Linked DNA regions of Homo sapiens: all the other regions are linked to region 3. The links are contacts of gene promoters, found by promoter capture Hi-C in human tissues and cell types (Jung and others, 2019). All regions are on one chromosome and are shown on one strand. The core of a region is centred on a gene start or on the middle of the fragment in contact, and the rest is flanking DNA. Distances in the headings are between cores, read along the strand shown.

Region 1 (2,700 bases), core at 165-2,664, 220 kb before region 3:
ATCACCACCTAATACCACACAGGTCATTAGCAGAGAGGTGACCATGCCTATCTGCACACGCAAGAGACCAGGGCCACAGAAGAGATGGCTTTTGATTTCTCCCTTTTCTGGCGCATTCATTCCAAGAACTCAAAGTGAACAAATGTTCCGGCCAGACACGTAACCATGGTACCTACCTCAGGAAAAGAGCAAACGGGACAGTTTCATCCCAAGCCTAGAACACAGGTCCCCATTGATCTCTGTGGTGTTTGTGTCGGCTGGGGGATGGGACATAGGGTGGGGTTCAGGGCTGACCTCATCTCCTGACTTTAGAGGGGAGGCTGTGAGTTAAAAGGAGAGCCCTCATAGGGAAGGACTTGAAGGGGTGGCAGCAGCGGTTGCAGTGACAGGTTCCAAACTCTTCCCATTTCTCATACTCAAAGCAGAAAGAGGAGGTGGCAGCAGGGGAGGAGTCTCCAATTTCAGAGTGACTCAGATCAGACGATTGGCTGATACTGATCAGCGGTAGACAGTGCATAGATGACAGACACCTGTTTGGCTCTCCAGCGCTCACTGGGGTGGGGCAGGAACGAGGATGCAAGATAGAGGGGACTTGAGACATGAGAGGTGGAGAAACGAAGCCTGAGTGGGAGCCAGGCCAGGAAAGATCATCCCCTGAGACGTGGGATGAGCAGGCAGCTGTGGGCCAGTTACCTTTGAGAAAGACCCTGAAGGATATGGGAAATTTATATATATATATATATATATATATATATATATATATATATAATTTTTATTTTTTAGACAGAGTCTTGCTCTGTCTCCCAGGCTGAAGTGCAGTGGGGAAATCTCGGCTGACTATAACCTCCGCCTCCTGGGTTCAAGCGATTCTCCTGCCTCAGCCTCCTGAGTAGCTGGGATTATAGGCTTCCACCACCATGCCCGGCTAATTTTTGTATTTTTAGTAGAGACAGGGTTTCACCATGTTGGCCAGGCTGGTCTTGAACTCCTGACCTCAAAGTGATCCATCTGCCTCAGCCTCCCACAGTGCTGGGATTATAGGCGTGAGCCACCATGCCCGGCCTATATTTTTCTTAAAAAGAAAAACCTCATTATTCTTACTTTCTAAACAAAGCATGGCTGGGAAAAGAGAGAGAGAGGAGGGCATCCGCCATGGCAGAGGAGCAGGGGTACATGTTCTGGGCAGAGAAAGGACGACTGGGGCGAAGGCGCAGGGTGGGAACGTGGGCACACGGGGAAACACTGAGTCAGTCTGGAGCGTGAGGTAGTGGAAAAAGGGACTGGGAATGTAGACCAGAGCCATATCACGGAGGCCCTTAAATTCCAAGCTAAGGAATTTGCACTTCATTTAGTAGGCCACGGGGAACCTCTACAAGTGACTGGATTAAAAGCGCGCTTTAGGAGGAAAATTTCAGGCTGTGGATGAACTGCAGGTCTCATTACATTAGTTAAGCTGCCAAAGAAAGATGTGGGCTCCTTCAGGTTGCCGTTCTTGGGAACTGGAACCGGGAAGAGAGTCATTCAAAGTTCCCAGGTGTTGATTCTGCCCTTATTCTGAGGAGGCCTCAATAAGGTGTGAGCCTCAGGTTGATCACAGGTTTATGAAGCAGGCAGGTGAGCAAGCAGTTACTCTGCCTGGTGGGCCAGGACTCCCTCCTGTCAAGGTGAAGTGCTCTGCACTGCAAAGAAACCTGCAAAGGTTTCCCACACAGAAGGGAACAGGAACCCTAGCTTTTTCTTGGTCTTACTTTAATCTAAAAGCGCTGCTAGCAAACACATTTTATGTTTAGCTGGCACCTAATCTGAGGAAGTTTCAACCTGCCAGTCATGAAGCAAACAACATCCGCTGAACACAGCCAAGTGTCCAGCTACCTGCTCTTTGTCCACCATCCTGACACCACAGAGGGGTTAGGATGAGAAGACCGAAGCACTGAGTGGCCCACTGGACTGAGTGACTCTGGGAAGCCCTTGGACTCAGGGGTAACTCTGACCACAAGACAAATGTGCCTGGGCCAGGTGCAGTGGCTCACACCCATAATCCCAACACCTTGGGAGGCCAAGGTAGGAGGATGGCTTGAGCCCAGGAGGTCGAGGTTGCATGAGCTATGATTGTGGCACTGCATTCCAACCTAGGTGAGAGAGTGAGACCCTGTCTCTAGAAAAACAAACAAACAAACAAACAAAAAAAACCTGTGCCCCATCCCTCAGCTTTGCTTAATTGGGTTGCAGAAATTATTATTGAGAAACAAAGAAAAGGTAAAAACAAGAACAAACAGACAAAAACAAAAAACAAAAAAAAACACATTCTCCTCACTCCTAACCCTCTACAAGAGGTCAAGTGAGGTCACCCCTCCTTGACTTGCTGAGGATGGCCAAGCCATGAAAATGGCTTCCTAACGGATGCAACAAGGCAAGACAGTACAGGGCAGGCAGGAAATGACACAGTGAGTTGGACCAGGGACAGATGGAGGAGTTTACCCCAACACAGTGCCTGGAGGTACCTGCTAATTATTTATGCATTGTATTAATGAATCTCAGAAATCAGGAAGCACTTATTATAAGAGAAATGCAATCAAATCTGCAGTGAGGGCTGGGTGCAGTGGCTCACGCCTGTAATCCCAGCACTTTGGGAGGCTGAGGCGGGCGGATCATGAGGTCAGGAGATCGAGACCATCCTGGCTAACACTGTGAAACCCCGTC
Region 2 (2,700 bases), core at 126-2,625, 190 kb before region 3:
ATAATCTAACTCAGTGCTCAGGTCAGAACTCTGGGCTAGATTTAGATCTGGCACCTTCAGCCTATGTCTGATGGTATGAGCATGGCTAAGATCACCTAGGGAAGATGGATAGGGTGGGAAGGCCAAAGCTTTGGGGATGTCAACATTTAAAGGCCCTGGGGCCAATAAGGAAGGAGACTGAGAAGAGGTGTTTGGGCCAGCAGAGATTCTAGCCAACATGAGGATGTCACAAGGTTTGTTTCTTCTGGGTCTGAGAGCTTCAAGTCAGGTTTTTGTTTTCTTTCTTTGTTTTTGTTTTTGAGACAGGGTCTTGCTCCATTGCCCAGGCTGGAGTGCAGTGGCTCGATCTCACTCATTGCAACCTCTGCCTCCCTGGTTCAAGGGATTCTCCTTCCTTGAGTAGTTGGGATTACAGGTGTCCACCACCATGCCCAGCTAATTTTTTTTTTTTTTTGAGATGGAGTCTCGCTCTGTCCCCCAGGCTGGAGTGCAGTGGCTCCATCTCAGCTCACTGCAAGCTCCGCCTCCTGGATTCACGCCATTCTCCTGCCTCAGCCTCCTGAATAGCTGGGACTACAGGTGCCCACCACCATGCCCGGCTAATTTTTTTGTATTTTTAGTAGAAATGGGGTTTCACCATGTTAGCCAGGATGGTCTCGATCTCCTGACCTCGTGATCCGCCCGCCTCAGCCTCCCAAAGTGCTAGGATTACAGGCGTAAGCCACCATGCCCGGCTAATTTTTGTATTTTCAGTAGAGACAGGGTTTCACCATGTTGGCCAGGTTGGTCTTGAACTCCTGACCTCAAGTGATCTGCCCACCTCAGCCTCCCAAAGTGCTGGGATAACAGGTGTGAGCCACCGCACCTGGCCCAGAATTTTTATTTTTCTTATTTCAGTTGTGAGAATTAAATGAGACAGCATATGACACTCACTATGACCTGGTGCTAGACTAAAAGCTTGGTAATAGTAGCTATTATTTTATCCAATAAATTATTGAGCATCTACTACATGCAAAGCAGATAGTCTGCAGAGACTCAGCCTCCAGCTTCAGGGAGCCTACAGTCTAGGGGGCCACATTCTGCTATCGCTCCCTAAGGAACATTTCTCTTTAGTCTTGGGCTTCTGCTGTGGGCTGGGAGCCTAGGTGTCCCCAGTGCACAGAAGTGCCACTTCTCCCCCAAACCCCGAAGTACCACTGTTAATCGTGTCTGCTTACAAATCTGACATCTAGGACCAGGTGGAGTGGTTCACACCTGTAATCCTAGCACTTTAGGAGGCTAAGGTGGGAGAATTGCTTGAGCCAGCCTAGGCAAGATAGCCAGGCCCTATCTCTACAGAAAATTTTAAAATTAGTCTGGTGTGGTAGCATGCACCTGTAGTCGCAGCTACTCAGGAGGCTGAAGCGGGTGGATCACTTGAGCCCAGAAGTTTGAGGCTGCATAAGCTGTGATCACCCCACCGCACTCCAGCCTGGACAACAGAGTGAGAACCCATCTCAAAAAACAAACAAACAAAAAAAAAACCAAATCTGATATCTGGGATAATTGTTGGGTACCTACTGTAAATCTGCTGCAGGGTCCATTCCCCCGTTCTGTAGGATGGGCTTGGCAGGAGCAGAAATCTCAACCTAACAGGAGAGCAGAGAAAATAGCTGTTGGAGTGGAAAGAAACCTGGTCTGGGGCTCCAAATGTCTGGGCTGCAGGCCTGGCTCCAGCCCCACTGGCCCAGTAGCTTAGGCAAGTCACCATCCCTTCCTTAGCTGCAGCTTTTTCATCAGTAGAAAGGGATCATAAAACAATTTATTGATTTTACCCTTGAGCCAGATGTAGGAGGCTGTGAGAATATGATGCTTGGATCATTGAAACTCTCCTTGCTTCATGCCACCCAAACAAGATGAAAGACTTGTGTGTCACAGATAAGTGAAATGACAGTCAGCAACATCCAACACACACAGGCATGCTCAGGAGAGGAGAGCACGGAGAACTTCTCCCCGCTAAGGAAACCTGGGGAGATTGCCTAGGGCTCCCACTCCCCGCAAAATATCCTCCTGTCTCTGGCCTTTCACCTTCCCCCGTCACAGTTTAGGTAATCACACATGTCCAGGTCTCCTTGCACGTTTTCCTCTAGAGCCCTTGCTTTCCAGAGAAGCTGTCCCCTCTGTCCTTGAGGGCTAATCTAAGGGACAATGCCTGGTATGGTGACTCCCGAGGGAATTCCCCCTGCTCCAATGAGCCTGCCAGAGGACAGGTCCCCTCTTTGTTTCCTCAATTCTGGGTCAGTGTTCTTTCCTTTTCAAAGCACTGAGGTCCCTCCACCCTAAAGAGGGAAGGGCTATGTGTATCTGTTTAGGAGACAGAGATCAAGGAGGAGGACTTAATTTCAGATACTTTAGGAGCCTCAATGGTTTTATTCTCTAAGCAAAAATGTTCTGCTCTAAACGGGGTGGGTCCTAGATACTTTGTGGAAAACAGGTCTGAGCATTCAGAGAATCAGTCTCCTTGGCTCCCCTCTCCCCTGACCCACACAATATGCCTCTGCTTTAGGTGAATTCACCTTTCCTCCTCTCTCCCTGAACCTGTCCATCAAGACCTTGAATCCACCTTCAGGTGAGGTATCAAATTCCTTCTCCCTGCACTCCATCCTCCATTTAGATCTCAGGGAAATGACCCTTAGAAATGGGCCACAGACCGGGCACAGT
Region 3 (2,700 bases), core at 67-2,566:
GGAAGCATTTCCAGGAGGTCTCATGGTTGTTACGCCCTTTCTACCTCTCAGTGGCCCGTCATGCTACCAAAAATACAGTGGGCTTCCTCAAGGAGATGGGCACACCTGGCTATCAGGGTGAACGCATCAGTCAGCTCATCCGCCAGCTGAACTAGACCCAGGTGCCAAACTGCAGTAAATTTTTATTAATGAAGTGGAAGCATGGGTAGTAGAAGCATGTGTTTTTGTTTTTTTGGGAATTTTTATCAAGTATCTTCAGAGAAGATTATTTCCAGCTTTATCTTCAAAAACTGGAAAGGAAGGGTCAAAGAAAAGACAGAAGCTCACGCCTGTAATCCCAGCACTTTGGGAGGCCGAGGCGGGTAGATCACTTGAGATCAGGAGTTCGAGACCAGCCTGGCCAACATAGTGAAACGCTGTCTCTACTAAAAATACAAAAATTAGCCGGGCATGGTGGCGTGCACCTGTAGTCCCAGCTACTTGGGAGGCTGAGGCAGGAGAATCACTTGAACCCGGGAGGCAGAGGTTGCAGTGAGCCAAGATCACGCCACTGCACTCCAGCCTGGGCAACAGAGCAAGACTCTCTCTCAAAAAAAAAAAAAAAAAAAAAAAGAAGGAGAAGAAACAGTAGCTTATGTTCATGGCAAGCACCTCTAATCACAGTCCAGTTTCCAAGGAAAAATTCCAGCGTTTTAGTTTAATGTCGGTAAGTGAGTAACTCTAGCATTTGTACAAGGCTCCCTAAGACTCCTGCACCAGTCGGCCAAGCCCAGGGACATAATTGAATTTGGAGATTCTTGGGGCCTTGTTTTGAAAAAGACTTGAAATAGGAAGAAAGGCCCAAAAATAAATGTTCACTTGTCTCTGAAAAAAAAAAATCTGTCTCAAAAAAAAAAAAAAGAGAGACTTAGGGGGGTCTAGGGGGCCTTCCCTGCTATCACCCCAGCACTGCCTAGGTGTTCTACCGGGAGAAGGGGGCCATCGAGCAGGGAGTTCTTACAGTTTTCTGAGACTTTCATGACCGTACCCCTTGAGAGTGTTGTAGGCAATATCCACTCCCCACCTACACACACACAAATTTTGCACCAAATTTTGGGGACTCTCGAAACCCAAGAACCCGGGTGATGGGACCCTAATCCCGACACTCCTTTGCAGCGCAGAGTCTGGGAGCGCAGAGCGCGGGGGCTGCGGGGTGGGCTGAAGGTGGGCAGTACCGGGGGGCGGCGGGCGGAGCGGGGCCGGGAGGGGGCGGTGCCGGAGGGCCAGCGGTGTGGCGCGCCGCCTGCAGGGGGCGCTTGCGGCGGCTCCGGTCGGAGACAATCGCGCTGAGCGGGCGCCGCAGCGGGAGCGGGAGCCGGAGCTGCGAGGCGCGGCGCAGAGCTGGGGCTGCGCGGGGCCGGGCGAGCGGGACCAGGCGGGAGCCATGGACCGCTAGGGCCCGGCCTAGCCCCGCGATGCCGCCGGCGAGTGGCCCCAGCGTCCTCGCGCGGCTGTTGCCGCTGCTGGGGCTGCTGCTCGGCAGCGCCTCCCGGGCTCCCGGCAAGTCGCCGCCGGAGCCCCCCAGCCCGCAGGGTGAGTCTCAGCCGGGAGGGGCCGCGATCGCGGGCCTGCGCCCCCTGATCAGGCTCCCGCCCGTCAGCCCCCTCTTCGCGGCGTTCGTGAATTGAGTGGTATTCTGTTCCCTGGATTCGGGTGGGGGGAGCTAAGCGATCTGGGGTTGGCGCTTCTGGGGGAAAGTGGAGGCGGGGAGAGGGAGGCCGTCCGGGGCGGGGGTCTTGGGGAGACACAATGGGTAGTGCGAGGGTCCCCAGGATCTGCGCCGCCGCCCTCTCCCTATTTGTTTTTCTCCCTCCTGGTCCGCGAGGCGCTGCTGCCTGAGCCATTGTCTACCGAAGACACCCGCCCAGGGGCGGGCTGGGGCGGGCGCCTGCTCCGCAGCCCCCTGCGGGTTGCTCGCTCCCGACCCTGGCGGGGTGGGGGCGCCGGCATCCGCTGCCACCCTAGGCCGGGACCGGAGGCTGGGAGCCTGGAGCTGGGTTTGAAGGGGGGAGGGGAGAAGGGGGAGTGGGTGAGGCTGTGGGCGGGATTGACTGCTCTAATGGGGTTCTTTGCCCTGGAGCCTGACAGCTCCCAGCCAGCCCCCCTGGTTTAGAGTTTGGGGTGCACCAAATAAATGCTTGTGAGCCTATGATGGAGGACGAGCCGCAGTTGTGGGCCTCTAAGAAAAGGGGGTACATTGTGATTCCCAGCTGAGGGAGCATGGCAGGCTTGTGGTCGTGGAGCCATGCTGAGCTAGCTGGCTGTGGGCAGTGCCGGCTGGGAGGGCAGGTGCCTGGGTCCCCCCCCATTCAGCAGGCCTCCTGGCATTCCTGTCCCCTGCCCGCCCCCATATCACCCCCTCCTCATCTCACATCTTCGCAGTGGAGGAGACCCTTCCCAGCGACTCACCGGGCGCAGGTGGGTGTGTGAGGTGGGGGTGGGGCCGGCTCCTGCAGCAGGAAAGGGTGGGGGAGCAAGACCCTGACAACACATCCCACAGGCAGGCCTGGACGCTTGGGGGCCTCCGCCCACTCCAGTCCTGAGTCCACCTCCCGGGTCCTGCTCTCCCTCTCCTGCCTGTGGGCCCCATCCCTGCCTGAAGCAGTATTCACTCCTCACCCCCCACACTAAGGAGCTGGCAGGAAAAGCAGAGTGGGGGGG
Region 4 (2,700 bases), core at 198-2,697, 140 kb before region 3:
GCGCCTGTAGTCCCAGCTACTCGGGAGGCTGAGGCAGGAGAATGGCGTGAACCCGGAAGGCGGAGCTTGCAGTGAGCCGAGATCGCGCCACTGCACTCCAGCCTGGGCGACAGAGTGAGACTCCTTTTCAAAAAAAAAAAAAAACAAATGAGCTGGGCTTAGTGGTGGGCGCCTGTAATCCCAGCTACTAGGGTGGCTGAGGCAGGAGAATCTCTTGAACCTGGGAGGCGGAGGTTGCAGTGAGCCGAGATTGCGCCACTGTACTCCGGCGACAGTGCGAGACTCCGTCTCAAAAAAAAAAAAAAAAAAAGAATACAATGTTTGAATTCTGTGTGCCCTGCCTCCCCTTAGATGGAAGCGTAGGCTGAAGCATGGGTGGGGCAAAGGGTAACAGCTAGAAAATACACACCCTTCCTCAAAAAATTACATTCCATTTGACTCTTTCAGGGCAGGGTAAGACCCATTTTTCCATTGTGTGATTTCTGTCAACTACTCTTTTCAAAAGGAGAGAAGTCCTGCCACCCTTCTATGTGTTTTATGTATTTTGGCTAAGAGTCCTGGAGCACTGGGTGAGGTCCTCAGAAGGGATGGAAAAATCCGATTCTTGACTCTCATAGTCAGCGCTAGGCAGGAGCATCAGAGATTACTGAATCCAATTTCCCTATTGTATAAAAAGGAAACTGAAGCCCAGAGAGCTTTAGTCGATCTGGATCAACTTCGGTCCCTTGTGAAATACTTCTCTCAAAGGATGGCTCGAAGTCAAGCTCCTTGCAGTCTTTGGGCCTTTGGGTCTAACGTTCCCTATGCCCCAATGCTGTAGGCTCCTCGCTGTGCCTCGGTCAAAGGTCCTTTCAGAGACTGTCCCTCTCAGCACTGTGGCCAGTTTTACTTTTTTGTGGCACTTGTTGATATTTAAAAATATTTATTTTACGAGTTATGTGAGTTCTTCCACTGGAATGAAATCCCCATAAGAGGAGATCATTCCTGTCTCGTTCACCGTTGAATCCTCAGGGTGAGCTGAGATTCGAAGCTAAGCAGTCTGGCTCTAAGGTCGCGCTTTCGGCCCAACATTATGCTGCTATTTAGTGAAGACGATGGACTTCTGCGCACACGGGGAAGCAACAGTGAGAAAAGACACCCGGAAGTGAGCAACAGCAAAACATCCAGATTTGTCCGCACGGTGCCCCCTCTGACCTTTCCCTCCGGAAGCTCTCGCGGCTCTCGGGCGGGAGTGCGCACGCGCGGCCACCGGGGTCGCTCCGGGTCGCGCGCGGAGCAGGGGCTAGAGGGAAGGGTCAGCCTCCAGGGCTGGCAGGCGCCTGCGCCGCGGGGCTCCCGTCAGGACGCGCATTCTCGCTCCCTCCCTCGGCTGCGCGCGCCCGGTGGGCGTGGGAGGAGGCGGGGAACCGGGGAGGGGTGGGTGTCGCAGGAGGGAAGGAGCGAACCGGAGAGCGTCGTCCTGAGAGGAGTGAAGGCGGCAAAATGGCGGACCGCTTCTCCCGCTTCAACGAAGACCGAGACTTTCAGGTAAACACGGGCGTCGCCGAGGATGCGGGGAAGGCGCTGGTCTAGCCCAGAACCTCCTTCATCTCCGGCTCCCAGCCCTCTTTCCTTCCAGTTTTGCTCCGACTTGCGAACCAGCTCGCTCTTCTCCCGTCTCTGCTTTCTCAAGAGGCCTCCCGGCTTGAGGGAGGCCGCATCTCCTCGCACCCGCATTCTCTTACCCCTGAAACTCAGGCCGCGGGGCTTGCGGCTTCCGCCTGTTTGGCATCGGATTTCGGAACCGGGCCTGAGCGCCGTGTGAGGGGCTGTGCCCTCCAGGTCTGCCCGATCTGTGCCGGCGAAGGGCTGGCTCCCAGGGGACAAGAGGGGTGGTTGGGTTGGGCTGAGAGGGCTTGGGGGAGAGTATTGCTGAGGCCAAGGCTTCCGAACCCCGGGATTTTGCTCTCACGGATCCTTTTGGGGTCCTTCTCTTTTCTTTCTTCACTGTGATAAATCAATTCCTTTCATTGTCTGCTTTTCCTCTTCCTTACCTGGGAAAAGGTTGCCTTCGCTATCAGACGCCTTATTGGTTAGTCATACATTGAGATTTCGCGGGGCATAAGTGTTGCTGTTATTAGGCTGTTAATTGGGCTTGGAAAGCAGTAAGTTACTGGACTATGATCCGATGTGAGCCTAACCTCAAATCCTATCTCGAAAGATTTGTGAGAAGCGTGATGATAATAGGCCGTCCACGCATGGGGTCACTAGTGCCAAAAGCTTGATTTTTCTTTCTTCAATTGCAAATGTTAGTATGGAAAAATGCCCTTACGATGGCAAGCTCTATTGAGTAAAAAATAAAGGCCAAATTAGAATAACTTGTTTTTTCGCTGTTGAAAATACCTTTCTGTTGAAATTGTTACCGCGGAAATCTCGAAGACTAAAAGGGATTTAGTAGAGATTGGCTATTTCTAGGTAAAATACATCCGTAGAGTCTCAAAAAAAAAAAAAAAACACTGCATTACTACCGCATATCCTGGCAACTGCAATTTGGGTCGGGATGAATCTCAGAACTCAAGTTTTTATCCCGCTGCAGATCCTACTCAAAGCAGTACGAAAGCACTCTAGATGTGTTTCAGAAGGCAGTTTAAAGAGTTTGAATTCCCTGAGATGATAGGATTGGTAAATAAATAGGTAAAGCAGTTTAACAATTTTAACTCA
Region 5 (2,700 bases), core at 183-2,682, 250 kb before region 3:
CCTAGGTGACAGAGTGAGACCCTGTCTAAAACAAACAAACAAAAAGACGGTAGAATGTGATGAGCAGAATGCTAGAAAAGTCAAGGGCACTATGGGAACTTGTAGAAGAGACTTCAAACCCCAACTTTATGGACCATGAAATACTTCCTGGAGGAAACACCTGAGCCGAGACCTGAAGAATAAATAGAGTGTTGTGAGCAGTCACCTGTACAAAAGCTGCAAGCAAGAGAGAATTTGTACTTTCAAGGAAATGCAAGAAATTCAGAGAAGTTCGGCTCGACTGGAACATAGAGCGCAAAATTGAGAAGAGTGCCTGCAGGGCCAGGCGCGGCAGATCTTGAAAGGTATCTAAGCTCCATTGAGAGTCTAGATTTTATCCTGGGAGCCATGGACCATCACTGAGGAGTTTCCAGTAGAAGAGTGACACAGTGAGGATCTGGTTTATTTTATTTATTATTAAATTTGATTTTGAGTCAATTGTTTTGTGTGTGGGGGGTTTTGTTTTGTTTTGTTTTTTCAGACAGGGTCTCACTCTGTTGCCCCAGGCTGGAGTGCAGTGATGTACTGCTCACTGCAGCCTTGACCTCCTGGGCTCAGGTGATCCTCCCCCCTCAGCCCCCACCCTCCCTCCACCATGTAGCTGGGACACCACCACCATGGCCAGCTAATTAAAAAAAAATTGTGTAAGGCTGGGTGCGGTGGCTTATGCCTGTAATCCCAGCTACTCGGGAGGCTGAGGCATGAGAATTACTTGAACCCGGGAGGCAGAGGTTGCAGTAAGCCAAGATTGTGCCACTGCACTCCAGCCTCGGTGACAGAGCAAGACCCTGTCTCCAAAAATAAAATAAAATAAAATTACGTAAATAATTTTTTTTTTTTTTTGTAGAGACAGGGTCTCCCTGTGTTGCCCAAGTTGGTCTCAAACTCCGGGGGCTCAAACGATGCTCCTGCCTCGGCTTCTCAAAGTGCTGGGATTACAGGTGTGAGCAACTGCACCAGGCCCTAAAAGTCATTTTAGTTTTTGCAAAGGTACACACATGGTACAAAAGAGCACATATTAAAGCACAAATCCCCCTGACTTTCCTGTCCCCGGCCATCCAGCACCCCACAGGTGTAGCCTTTGGAATGCTCATTTTGGCTGCAAGTTGAAAAGCAACATGGTATTGAAGCAAGAGTGAAAACAGGAGACCCTTTAGGAAGCCGTTGAGCATTCTGGATAACAGCGGATGGTAGTGACTGTGAGAATGATTTTACACTCTAGGAGGCCAAGGCGGGTGGATCACTTGAGGTCAGGGGTTCAATACCAGCCTGGCCAACATGGTGAAACCCCGTCTCTACTAAAAAAAAAAAAACCTACAAAAATTAGCCAGGCATGGTGGCACGCCTCTGTAATCCCAGCTACTCAGGAGGCTGAAGCAGGAGAATTGCTTGAACCCGGGAGGTGGAGTTTGCAGTGAGCCGAAATCGCCCCACTGCACTCCAGCTTGGGAAACAGAGCGAGACTCTGTCTCAAAAAACAAACAAACAAACAAACAAAACAAAAAGAAAAGGAAAAGAAAAGAAAATAAATAGAAAAGAAAAGAAAAAGAATGATTTGAGAGACATGGAGGAGGCATCAATAACAGAACCTGGGGACTGATTGGACATGGGGTATAGGAGAAGAAGAAGGACGACACTCCAGAGAGGAGATAGTGCTTCAGTGTGCCAAGGAGGAACAAAAGGGGAGCCAAGTTAGGGGGATGGCGGGGTGGTCCGCGAAGATGGGCCACCAGCAATGCCGTCCCCTCATGCGCATGCTGCTCCGTTAGTGCATTTTCTGTCTCCTTAAATCCAGGGTGGAGCCGGGCACCTGATTACATGCCTGTAATCCCAGCATTTTGGGAGGCCAAGGCGGGTAGATCACTTGGGTTCAGGAGTTTGAGACCAGCCTGGCCAACATGGTGAACCCCATCTCTACAAAAAATACGAAAAATGACAAAATCCAACAAAAAGTACATCTCTACAAAAAATATGAAAAATGAGCCAGACGTGGTAGTGAACACCTGTAATCTCAGCTACTCGGGAGGCTGAGGCATGAGAGTGGCTTGAACCCAGGAGGCAGAGGTTGCAGCAAGCCAAGTGCGCCACTGCACTCCAGCCTGGGTGACAGAGTGAGACTCTGACTTAATAAATCAATCAATCCAGGGTGGCCTGTGATTTGCTCTGACCAATGGTGGCAGCAACACTGATGCCCTGACAGGTGAGGTCTAGGTCTTTTTTTTTTTTTTTTTTTTTTTTTGGAGACAGGTCTCTGTCACTCAGGCTGGAGTGTAGTGGTGTGATCATAGCTCCCTGTAACCTCCGCCTCCCAGGCTCAAGTGATTCTCCCACCTCAGCCTCCTGAGTAGCTGGGTCTACAGGCCTGTGCCACTACACCTGGCTAATTTTTCTTTCTTTTCTTTTCTTTTTTTTTTTGAGACAGGGTTTTGCCATGTTGCCCAGGCTGGTCTCAAACTCCTGGCCTCAAGTGTTCCTTCCACCTGGCCTCCCAAAGTGTTGCGATTACAGGCGTGAGCCATCGCGCCCAACCTGAGGTCTAGGTCTTAAGAGACCTGACAACTTCTACTTCTTCCCTGTTGGAAGCCAGTCACCATGTAAAGAGGTCTGGCCACCCTGGAGGAGAGGGAGCTATAGGGAAAGAGAGCGAGGGAGAAGCACCAG

The links. The method cuts DNA at HindIII sites, captures the fragments that hold promoters and counts their contacts. A contact is called where the count stands out against the background at its distance.
Region 1: a fragment that was not itself captured here is called in contact with the fragment with the promoter of FAM171A2 in region 3 in 2 of the 25 tissues and cell types used here (IMR-90 fibroblasts and lymphoblastoid cells).
Region 2: a contact is called between a fragment that was not itself captured here and the fragment with the promoter of FAM171A2 in region 3, in 1 of the 25 tissues and cell types used here (dorsolateral prefrontal cortex).
Region 4: the fragment with the promoter of GPATCH8 here is called in contact with the fragment with the promoter of FAM171A2 in region 3 in 5 of the 25 tissues and cell types used here (IMR-90 fibroblasts, heart right ventricle, lymphoblastoid cells and 2 more).
Region 5: a contact is called between a fragment that was not itself captured here and the fragment with the promoter of FAM171A2 in region 3, in 3 of the 25 tissues and cell types used here (mesendoderm cells, neural progenitor cells and ovary).

Annotation. Positions count from the first base shown.
Region 1 is chr17:44,583,287-44,585,986 of GRCh38, reverse strand. No RefSeq gene overlaps it. Among named protein-coding and RNA genes, the nearest start is that of FZD2, 27 kb to the right of the region's middle. The HindIII fragment of the contact is 5,837 bases long and covers 1-2,700 here.
Region 2 is chr17:44,549,351-44,552,050 of GRCh38, reverse strand. No RefSeq gene overlaps it. Among named protein-coding and RNA genes, the nearest start is that of FZD2, 6.8 kb to the left of the region's middle. The HindIII fragment of the contact is 6,889 bases long and covers 1-2,700 here.
Region 3 is chr17:44,362,469-44,365,168 of GRCh38, reverse strand. It overlaps FAM171A2 (family with sequence similarity 171 member A2), which reads left to right and starts at 1,316. Exons shown (of 8, transcript NM_198475.3): 1 at 1,316-1,572. The coding sequence starts at 1,455. It also overlaps the pseudogene RPL7L1P5. RefSeq lists a silencer at 1,225-1,604. The HindIII fragment of the contact is 16,504 bases long and covers 1-2,700 here.
Region 4 is chr17:44,502,153-44,504,852 of GRCh38, reverse strand. It overlaps GPATCH8 (G-patch domain containing 8), which reads left to right and starts at 1,447. Exons shown (of 8, transcript NM_001002909.4): 1 at 1,447-1,527. The coding sequence starts at 1,483. RefSeq lists a silencer at 1,164-1,513 and an enhancer at 1,614-1,713. The HindIII fragment of the contact is 22,919 bases long and covers 1-2,700 here.
Region 5 is chr17:44,611,763-44,614,462 of GRCh38, reverse strand. No RefSeq gene overlaps it. Among named protein-coding and RNA genes, the nearest start is that of LINC01180, 37 kb to the left of the region's middle. The HindIII fragment of the contact is 8,739 bases long and covers 1-2,700 here.